Regions from separate parts of the Homo sapiens genome. Here region 2 is linked to region 1. The links are contacts of gene promoters, found by promoter capture Hi-C in human tissues and cell types (Jung and others, 2019). All regions are on one chromosome and are shown on one strand. Each heading gives the region's core, a stretch centred on a gene start or on the middle of the fragment in contact. The rest is flanking DNA. Distances are from core to core; before and after follow the strand shown. Region 1 holds the start of CIDEA (cell death inducing DFFA like effector a). Region 2 has its middle 7.0 kb from the start of MIR7153.

Region 1 (4,288 bases), core at 535-3,034:
TGTTTTCTTCCAGTTTAGTTTGGTAACAGGTAGATTTCACAGAATGACAGTAGTCCAGCCTGGGAGCAGGTAGATTTCACAGAATGACAGTAGTTCAGCCTGGGAGCAGGTAGATTTCACAGAATGACAGTAGTTCAGCCTGGAAGCAGGTAGATTTCAAAGAACTGCAGCAACAGCTTGTCCATAACAGGTAGAGTCATTCACTCCTGGGATGAGCCAAGCTGGAAGGAATGTGTCCTAGGAGACTCAAGGTTTCCCAATGTTTCATTTGTCAACAGCTCATAAGCAAGTCACTTCCACTTCACACGACCTCACAGAGACCCCACACAGATGCATTTTGGATTTTGGTGAGCTGTTATAATAGTCAGAGGCAGGGACAGGCTCAGCCTGAATCCTGCTCAGAGGCCAACCAGGATTGGTTAGTGCGAGTCAGCCCACACCTCCTTCCCCCATGCTCCGGAGGAACAGTGGGTGTGTTGTGAATTCACTGGAAAAGTGGTTGGAAGGACGCATTCCAAACTGCTAAGACCTCCCCTCCTGGAAGTGGGACTGTGGTGTGGATGGTTCTGGAAGAACGCAAAAGATACAGGGCCCTGACCTTTAGGCCTAAGCGTGTTAATGACCATACACGAAGCAGGTGTTTCTCAGCGTCCCCCTGCCACCGCCCCGACTTGTACTGTGGGCTTATTTTTAAAGAGAAAGATGCTTCTAACCTGCAGTGTCTACAACAGCTCCCATTTAAGAACCCGGGATTGGAAGCTCATAGATTGCGTTTCGTAGCCGGACCGCTCCCTTTCACACATGTAGTCTCTCTGCCCGCCACACGTAGCACACACAGTGGGACCCGGCGCCGCTGAACGCCTGCACCTTCAAGCCCGCAAATGGTTCTCTATCCTTTTCCAGGTACTTGATCTTCAGAGAAACACGATCTCCCTCTTAGACCTTACTTTACAGTTGCTGCCACGCAATGACTTAGGATTTTACCAAGAATTGGCTTGGGTCTGTTGGGATATGAATATTAACCCAAGCAGGAAAATAGCCAATGCTGCCTGTTCGACCACGAGCGGGTGCGAAGCGCAGGGAAGACTCCTCAGGGTCCACCCGCCCCTTGTCCCCCCTGCTCCCCAGGCAGCGTCTCCGCCCTTGGACCCGGAGGCAAGGAGGAGCGCTTCTCCCAGCACCACCAACCTGGAGGGCTCCGCCGGACGGTTGGGGCCTCCCCTCGGAGACCAGAGCCCGCGCTTCCAGGAGGGGCCAAGCCTGGGCCCCTCCCGCGCCCAGCTCCCGTTGTGATTTCCAGGACCCCCAGAAGCCCGGTCCCCTCGCATCGCGGAAGCTTTGCTCGGGGTTCCTGGGACCGGACCCTCTTCTGCGCCCGCGACTGCAGCAGCGGCCAGAGATGCATGCAGCCACTCGCCAGCTGTCACCTGGTTTGCAGACGCCCGCGCACCTCGCAAGAGCCACACCTGGTACCTGTGCCCAGCTGCAAGAGGGTGAGGAGGCGCGGGACGGGATTGGGCTCTGCCCGCGGGCGCGGCTGGACGGCTTGGGCACCAGTGGGGCGGATGGGTGTGTGCGCGGGGTCGCGGAGCGCAAGAGAATGCGGGGAGCAGGGGGCTGAAGGGAGCGGGGTACGGTACTAGAGGCGCACAGGGGAATATGAGGCCACCGAACGCAAGGCGATTGGAAGCGCACGGCAATCAGGGGGACGCGGGGCACTCGCCTGATGAGGGCTCCTGCATAGTCCCGGGCGGCCTCCATGGCGCGGATCCCCTAGCGGGCCTGGAGGTCTGTCTGCCTGCACAGCCTCTTAAAGTGCGGCGGCCCCGCCCCCGCCCGCCTGCCAGCCCCGCGAAGGCCTGACTGGCGCAGGGGAGGACGTTTTGGCACGAGCTCTCCACCGCCGAGGATCGCGACTTCGCGCTCTGGGAGCCCCCGGTCGTCCTGGCTCCCGCAGCCTGGAGCCGCGCGTCCTTCGCTGCCTTGGGCCGTACCGAGGACCTTGGAAGCCCAGATGCTCCCCGGGTCTCTTTTGGTCACTTGCCAGCCTGTTCGTTTTGCACTTCTGGGGGTCGGGGCAGTTGGGGTCATAACCAATCCTGGCAGCATCACTTTGGCCGCGGAAAGACGGGTATGTGGATTTTAAACCCAGGCCACGGGTGGGGCAGGTGAGGAGACGGATGTGAGCGCCACTTGCCTCCAGCTCTGGAGTCCCCCAGAGCCCAGCCCCAGGCTCAGCGAGCCGCTGGTTCCCTGCAGGGATGCGGAAGCTGCCGCAGACACCGGGACCTGCAGCCCTTCAGGTTCTCCGAGGCGCCTGGGCTTCCTGCCCGCTGCGCTGCTCTCAAGGCCATGTCATGAGCATTTGGGGACAGTGAGAAGGGCATGCAGAACGGGAGGGGAAAGGAGCCTTTGGACTGCATGAATTGCCTTTTAGCTGTAGTAAGGGACCCTCGCAGAGTGAGGAGGCAAAGAGTGAACCCCGCTGGGGCTGGGGGACTTCCGTCCACACCCTGCTCTCATGGTTGTTCCCATCGGAAGACGCAATTAGGGCCTCTGAGACCTCCGAGGAAGGCGGGCAGTTACAAGGGGTTCCCAGAACCCCTCACTACAGGACTGAAGAGGTGGGCTCAGTGTTGAGGGGTGGGACTCGGGCAGTAAGAGGTGTAACTTTCTGGGATGGAGGCTTGCTAGGATATCCTCTCGTGCCCAACTGCTGACTGCCGCCTGGAAACAGCGTTTCGGGAGCTGCAGCGGGACCCTCGCCGGCTCCTCCTGAGCCCACCTGGTTTGAGCAGACTGACCTGATCTCTTAAGACCTGACCCTATGCCCGCCCTCTTCCTCCGCTGGCTCTCAGAAAGGGTCACCGTGGTCAACAAGCCTTGTGACTTGCAGGACTGTTGAAGCCAAAGGCAATTGCCTTCCAGAGTCAAGGACTCCGCCTGCTGGGAACACCCAGCTCCAGGCTCACAGGGGGCAGCTTCCCCCAGAGGCACTGAGCGGACACAGCTTTAGGAGGTCATTCACTGCCCCTCCCACTCACAGCCCCAATGTGATGGATGAGAAAATGGGTCCAATCAATTCAGGTCAACTTACCTCTAACCTTTTTATTGTGAAAAAGTTCAAATATAGAGATACATAGAAAGAACAGGGCTGAGGGTACTGGCTTACATCTGTAATCCCAGTACTTTGGGAGGCCAAAACAGGAGGATGGCTTGAAGCCAGGAATTTGAGACCAGCCTGGGTAACACTGTGAGACTACTATCTCTACACAAAAATAACGATAATTAGCCAAGCATGACGGCGAGCACCTGTAGTGCTAGCTACTCAGGAGGCTGAGGAGGGAGGATCACCTGAGCCCAGGAGTTTGAGGTTGCAGTGAGCTGTGATCATGTCACTGCACTCCAATATGGGCAACAGAGTGAGACTTTCTCTCTAAAGAAAGAAAAAAATCTGTTTGTGTGTATATATCTATCTATCTATATATAAGATAGATAGATAGATAGATAGATAGATAGATAGATAGATAGATAAGAGAGAACAGTACAATGAGCACACTTACACCCAGCCCCTGGATTCAACCACTGTTAACATTTTGACATATTTCTTTGTTCTTTATATTTGAATTTGAACCCTTCCAAATTAAATCCTTTAGCTTGCATCTCTGGAGAAACAAGGACATGATCTCATACATAACCATAGTGACATTATCACTTCTAACAAAATAAAAATAAAGACCTGGGCACTGAGTGTGGACATGGGGGTGGGGTGGGGACTAGCAAACATTTCCAGGCCATGGCGATGGCAGAAGGGACCCAGCAGGAGATCACCCTGGGGTTTTGAGCTTGGGAGACTGGAGAGATGAGGAATCCTGGACGGGAGCAAGTCTGTGGTGGAAGCGGAGATGGTGGTGAGACCAGGCCCTGGGGACCCCTTGGTCACGGAGGCAGCATAGCCCTGGTGTGCATTGGTTCTCATGCAGATCTTCAGGCTGGGAGTAAAAGTCGGTCACTGCCCTGCTGCTGAGTGGGAATCCTGGAGTGCTGCGCTAGGAGGGTGGTGGGGAGAGGTGGGAGAGGGCAGAGGGCAGACTGAGCTCCAGGGGACTTGGCTGCAAACCCAACAGATGATGGAGAAGACAACAGTGCGAGTCATGCCCAGCCTTCCAGCATATTCTCGTCTCCAGCACACAAATTCATTCCACTCTCACTCGACAGGTTTCATTCATCCATGTTCAACAACTACTCTGTGCCCGGGCAACCAGGATTGGGAACCCAGCTTTTTAGT
Region 2 (4,288 bases), core at 1,342-3,841, 590 kb after region 1:
TTTTACTTTTAACAGTTTCTTATCTGGCCCACGTGAAGAGAGCAGTGTGACATTCTGGATGCCACTCTGAGGTTTGGTGAATGACCTCTCGTCCATCCTAGCTGGGGGCTCCTTGATTCTCACCTGAATCACTGTTCCATCCCCCAGACAGCCTCACCCATTCCATTCTGTCTCATATTCAGCCTCGTCCCCATACCACAGCCTGAATGACACTTAACAGGCACACCCGGTCCCTCACTCTTAGGCATTGATTTCTGTGGAAACCCACTATACTCTCAGGATAAAGCGGCACCCTGAGCTGGACTGCTGAGGGCCAGGAGTCCACCCCTGGTGGCCTCCCCAGCCACCCACTCTGCTCTGTGCCTGGTGGGAAACTTCAGGTCATGCATTTTGCCTCTTGGGGTTCATCCCCCCAGCTTTGCATGAAGCCTCTTGTCCAGGTGTCTCTGCATGCTTTTCCTACTTCTTGGAAAGGTTTTCCTCCTTCTTGGAAAGCTTTTCCTCTTCTTCCCAAATTAGTAACATCTTCCATATGCTCCCACAACCAACAGGAATGTTAAGGAAATTATTCGGCCTGTATATTTCAGCACTGGAGAGGGAAACACAGAGGTAACTGGGATCACAAAAAAGCTGCCATTCCCTCCAAGACCGGAAATAAGCAAATGTGTGCTCAGACACCGAAACAGCCAAACAGATGCCTTCCTTGTGATGCTTCTGTGGTGACCTTGTCCCCCTTCTCATGTCTGCCACCCTCAGCCAGCCTCCCAGCTACCTCTCAGCTGTCCCTCTGTGGTGGCAGCACACTCATTTGTCACAGTCTACATGTGGACTTCTGTTTTAGCTTTGGGATGATGGTCAGATGATGTCTGTCCTGTGCATAAAGCCCTCTGGCCCCTTAGAAAAAAATCCAAACTCCTCACCTGGGCTAAATGAACCCTGCCTGTCCTGGTTTTGTGCCTGACTCTCTGAGGGTCAACTCGCACCCTCCTCCTCCTTGGTTACCTGCTCCTCTGGCCTGTGCCTCCTTGTCCCTTGTCCCAGGAAATCTCTTCTCCCAGGTTTTTGCAGACTGTCTATTTCTTCTCCAAGCATACCGGCTCAAATATCACACCTCTGAGAAGAGCTGGCCTCCAGCCTCCCCATCTTTGTAAGTGGTCAGACATTCTCCCTCACACTGCCCCTGATGGGCTCCATCTGAACTCTTCTTGTCTGTTTATTTGCCTCGCTTTCACGTTGTCCGTGTCCCGCACCAAGTCTGCTTAGCTCATGCCTTGTCAGTATCTCCAGCAGTGCCTGGCGTGTGGTCACTTGCCAGAACTATTGGATGAATGTCTCACTTCTCCAACTAGATCATGAGCTCTTGAGCCATGGAATGGAATGGCTTCATCTTACTCTCCTGTTTTCCCCAAAGTAGGGACTTTGGGGAAAAGTGCATAGAAAGTGCTGGGTGAACATTGATTTTTACATTGTCAAATGTGATTGGCTGTCATTTGGTGGACATGAGCTGGAGAGGAAGATATCTGGAGTAACCAGTTTCCAAGTGGTGCCATGAGTTTTCCCTTATCTGTTCTGTAAAAATTGGGAGTATGTGAGATGGGGAAAACTTTCATTTGGATTCTAGTTCCATTGCTGCCACTAGCTGGCAGCTAGCTGTGGGTCCTTGGGCAAATCCAAAGGAGCAAGTCACTTAGTCCCTTTAATTCTTAATCCTCACATTTATGAATACAGGAATTAAACTAAGGACTTTCAGGGCTCTCTTCCACTTATAAATTCTAGACCTAGATCATTTTAGGCCAGACCATCACCGTTATCAGGCTGCTTCCATCTGGTTTTTTGAATAGATGTACGTGGATACTGGTAGCGTAATCCCAGTATGATGCTATAAGAAGCATCATTGTTTCCACGAGGGAGGAAAGGTATAAAGGTGAGGGAAGTAGTGCCTTCAGTGAGAACTTAAGAGATGGATGTAGGAGAGACCCGAGGGCTCTGGAGCTGGAGAACCGATGTTCACAGAATTCTCGTTCACTGCTTGTTCTCACATGAATGCTCAAAATGCGGCACATTACTCATTTTGGAGAACTGGGCTGAAAATGAAACCTGGTTGATCGAAGAGAAGAGGGCAATGAGGAGGACAACTGTTGAATTCTGCAGTGACTCTGGTCCCTGTTACAAGCTCAACCTGAAGGAAAAGTAGTTCCATGAAATGGTTCCAATGAGAGTGTTACAGGACCAACAGGTTCACATGCTTGCTGTGCAGTCACAGATCAATGACATGGAGACAGCAGGGTTTGCAGCAGAGATGGGAGTTTCGTGATCACAGGGTGTTGAGCAAAGAGATGGGAGGAGACCCTCAAATCCATCTCCCAGAGAAGTTCTGGGCTGGGACCCTTAAGGGGATCGTGGAAGATGAGGGACTGGAAAATTAGAGTCATTGATTGGTTGGGGAAAAGGGGAGGAACTCATTAGGATGTGGAAACTGCCATCCTTGGTGAGTCAGCTTCTCCTAGGTTCCTTCAGACCAGCTGAGTCAGCAGTTTCACTGATATGCAGGACCTGAAAGAATATCTCAAAGGGAAATTTGACGTTTTGTAATGTTGAAGTTGTTATCGATAGGGCAGTCAAGGGGAACTATAATCTTGTAACAGGGTCCACGGGATTCTGAGGCAACTGGCACCAAACAGCTATGAGAAAGTGGATCAGAGAGCTGCTGACCTAATGATGAATGCTGAGTGTGCCGCCAGCTGGGTTTATTTTCATTTCTCGCCTTCCTTTATTCCTTGATTAATTTTGTAAAGTTTACAGGGATGCTTTCATGAGCTCCAGCAGATGCCAAAAAGTGCATGCAGTGGGAAAAATGATGCACTTCAGAGAGGCTTGGGAGCCGGGGCTTCTAGGTGGACTTAGGACATAGGCCCTGGGAATGGCAAATGGGCACTCGAATAAAAACAAGGTCCAGGCACATGCCAGTCATGCCTCAAGAAGTGTCAAGGGGTGTCCTGCTTAGCTGCTTCCATTGACATTTCTGTGGGTTCCCGCCTGGGTATTTTTCTTCCCTTCGTTCTTGGGCTAATCTTATCTGGTGAGGTCTGACCTGGTTCTTGTCATCATTCTCCCCGGTGCGCTGGAGTGCCTGTGTGCCCGCTGAAGGCACTGAGGTGTGCATCTGCCTGTGTCTTCTTTTCCTCTGCCAAGTTGTTCCAGTTTGTGTGGGTGGGTCTCTGCCTCAGTTTCCCTGTCTAGCACCCCAGACCCTTGCTGGTGCTGGAACACTGCCCTGAAAACCCAGCTTGTGTGCTGGAGACACTACCCACCTGGTGGACTGCTTTGCCTGCTGGGCAGGAGGAATACACCCCCCTTCCCTCCCTCCTGGTTTCTGGACCCGTGGCGCCGCCACCCACACAGTGTCCTGGAGCTGTGTCCTTGATGCCTTAACCTAATCACCGTACCAAACCGCTTCTAACATTTACAGGCCTGAATTTGCTGGAGTCTTGGGGTTTTTTTAATAGACTTAGATGGAAACATCTTCTCTCCAGTGTCCACAGGGCTGGTTTCCGTAGCCACCGATGTACTCCGAGCCAGTCTTCTTTCCCTCCTGAGAATCAAGTTGTTGCAGTGGCATTATTCGGTTTTGTGGCTGAGCCCACACTGCATTTAACTTCTCCGAGACACTCCCAGGCCAGTTCCTTGAGAAGGAAAGTGACTTCGTATTTGAAAACAATACCAAACTCTATCTTGCCAGTATGGGAGGGTGATGCGAACTTTATCTTTGAACATTCAGACAGACCTTTAAAAAAATTAACTTAAAAATAATATTAACCTATTACTTCAGAAATGATACATTCAAAGGAAAATAAATCATCTGATTCCAGAGAAATGGGTTACTAGTATCAGCCAATGGGGCTTTCAGGTTTGCTGTACTTTTTAGATGGGGTGTGCATATTTATGTCAGCTGGAAATGTTTGGGGATAATTGTACCTTTTTTCAATGTTAAGTCAGGATCTTCTGGCCATTTTGCCCTTCTCTGAGCACATGGTGAGCCAGACTATTCATGGGAAACAATACTTTGGATAAGGTTTGCCAATTAAATCTCTCTCCACATTTCAATTACTTTCTCTAAGCAAGGTAGACATATGAAATAACTTTTCATTAAATATTGCATCTTGGAATCCTCAATAGGAAGGCAATGAAAAGCTAACCCAGCCCCATCGGATACTGAGCTCTTCCTTGCAATAGTCCTGTCTGTGACTGTCTAGCTTCTGTCTGAACACCTATGAATGACAGAGAACTC

What was found. The method cuts DNA at HindIII sites, captures the fragments that hold promoters and counts their contacts. A contact is called where the count stands out against the background at its distance.
Region 2: a contact is called between a fragment that was not itself captured here and the fragment with the promoter of CIDEA in region 1, in 3 of the 25 tissues and cell types used here (H1 embryonic stem cells, lymphoblastoid cells and spleen).

Annotation. Positions count from the first base shown.
Region 1 is chr18:12,251,857-12,256,144 of GRCh38, reverse strand. CIDEA (cell death inducing DFFA like effector a) reads right to left here and starts at 1,784. Exons shown (of 5, transcript NM_001279.4): 1 at 1,724-1,784. The coding sequence starts at 1,761. LOC105371996 (a long non-coding RNA gene) reads right to left here and starts at 1,132. Exons shown (of 2, transcript XR_935158.3): 1 at 714-1,132; 2 at 1-566. RefSeq lists an enhancer at 2,042-2,648. The HindIII fragment of the contact is 10,266 bases long and covers 428-4,288 here.
Region 2 is chr18:11,659,844-11,664,131 of GRCh38, reverse strand. No RefSeq gene overlaps it. Among named protein-coding and RNA genes, the nearest start is that of MIR7153, 7.0 kb to the right of the region's middle. The HindIII fragment of the contact is 6,531 bases long and covers 1-4,288 here.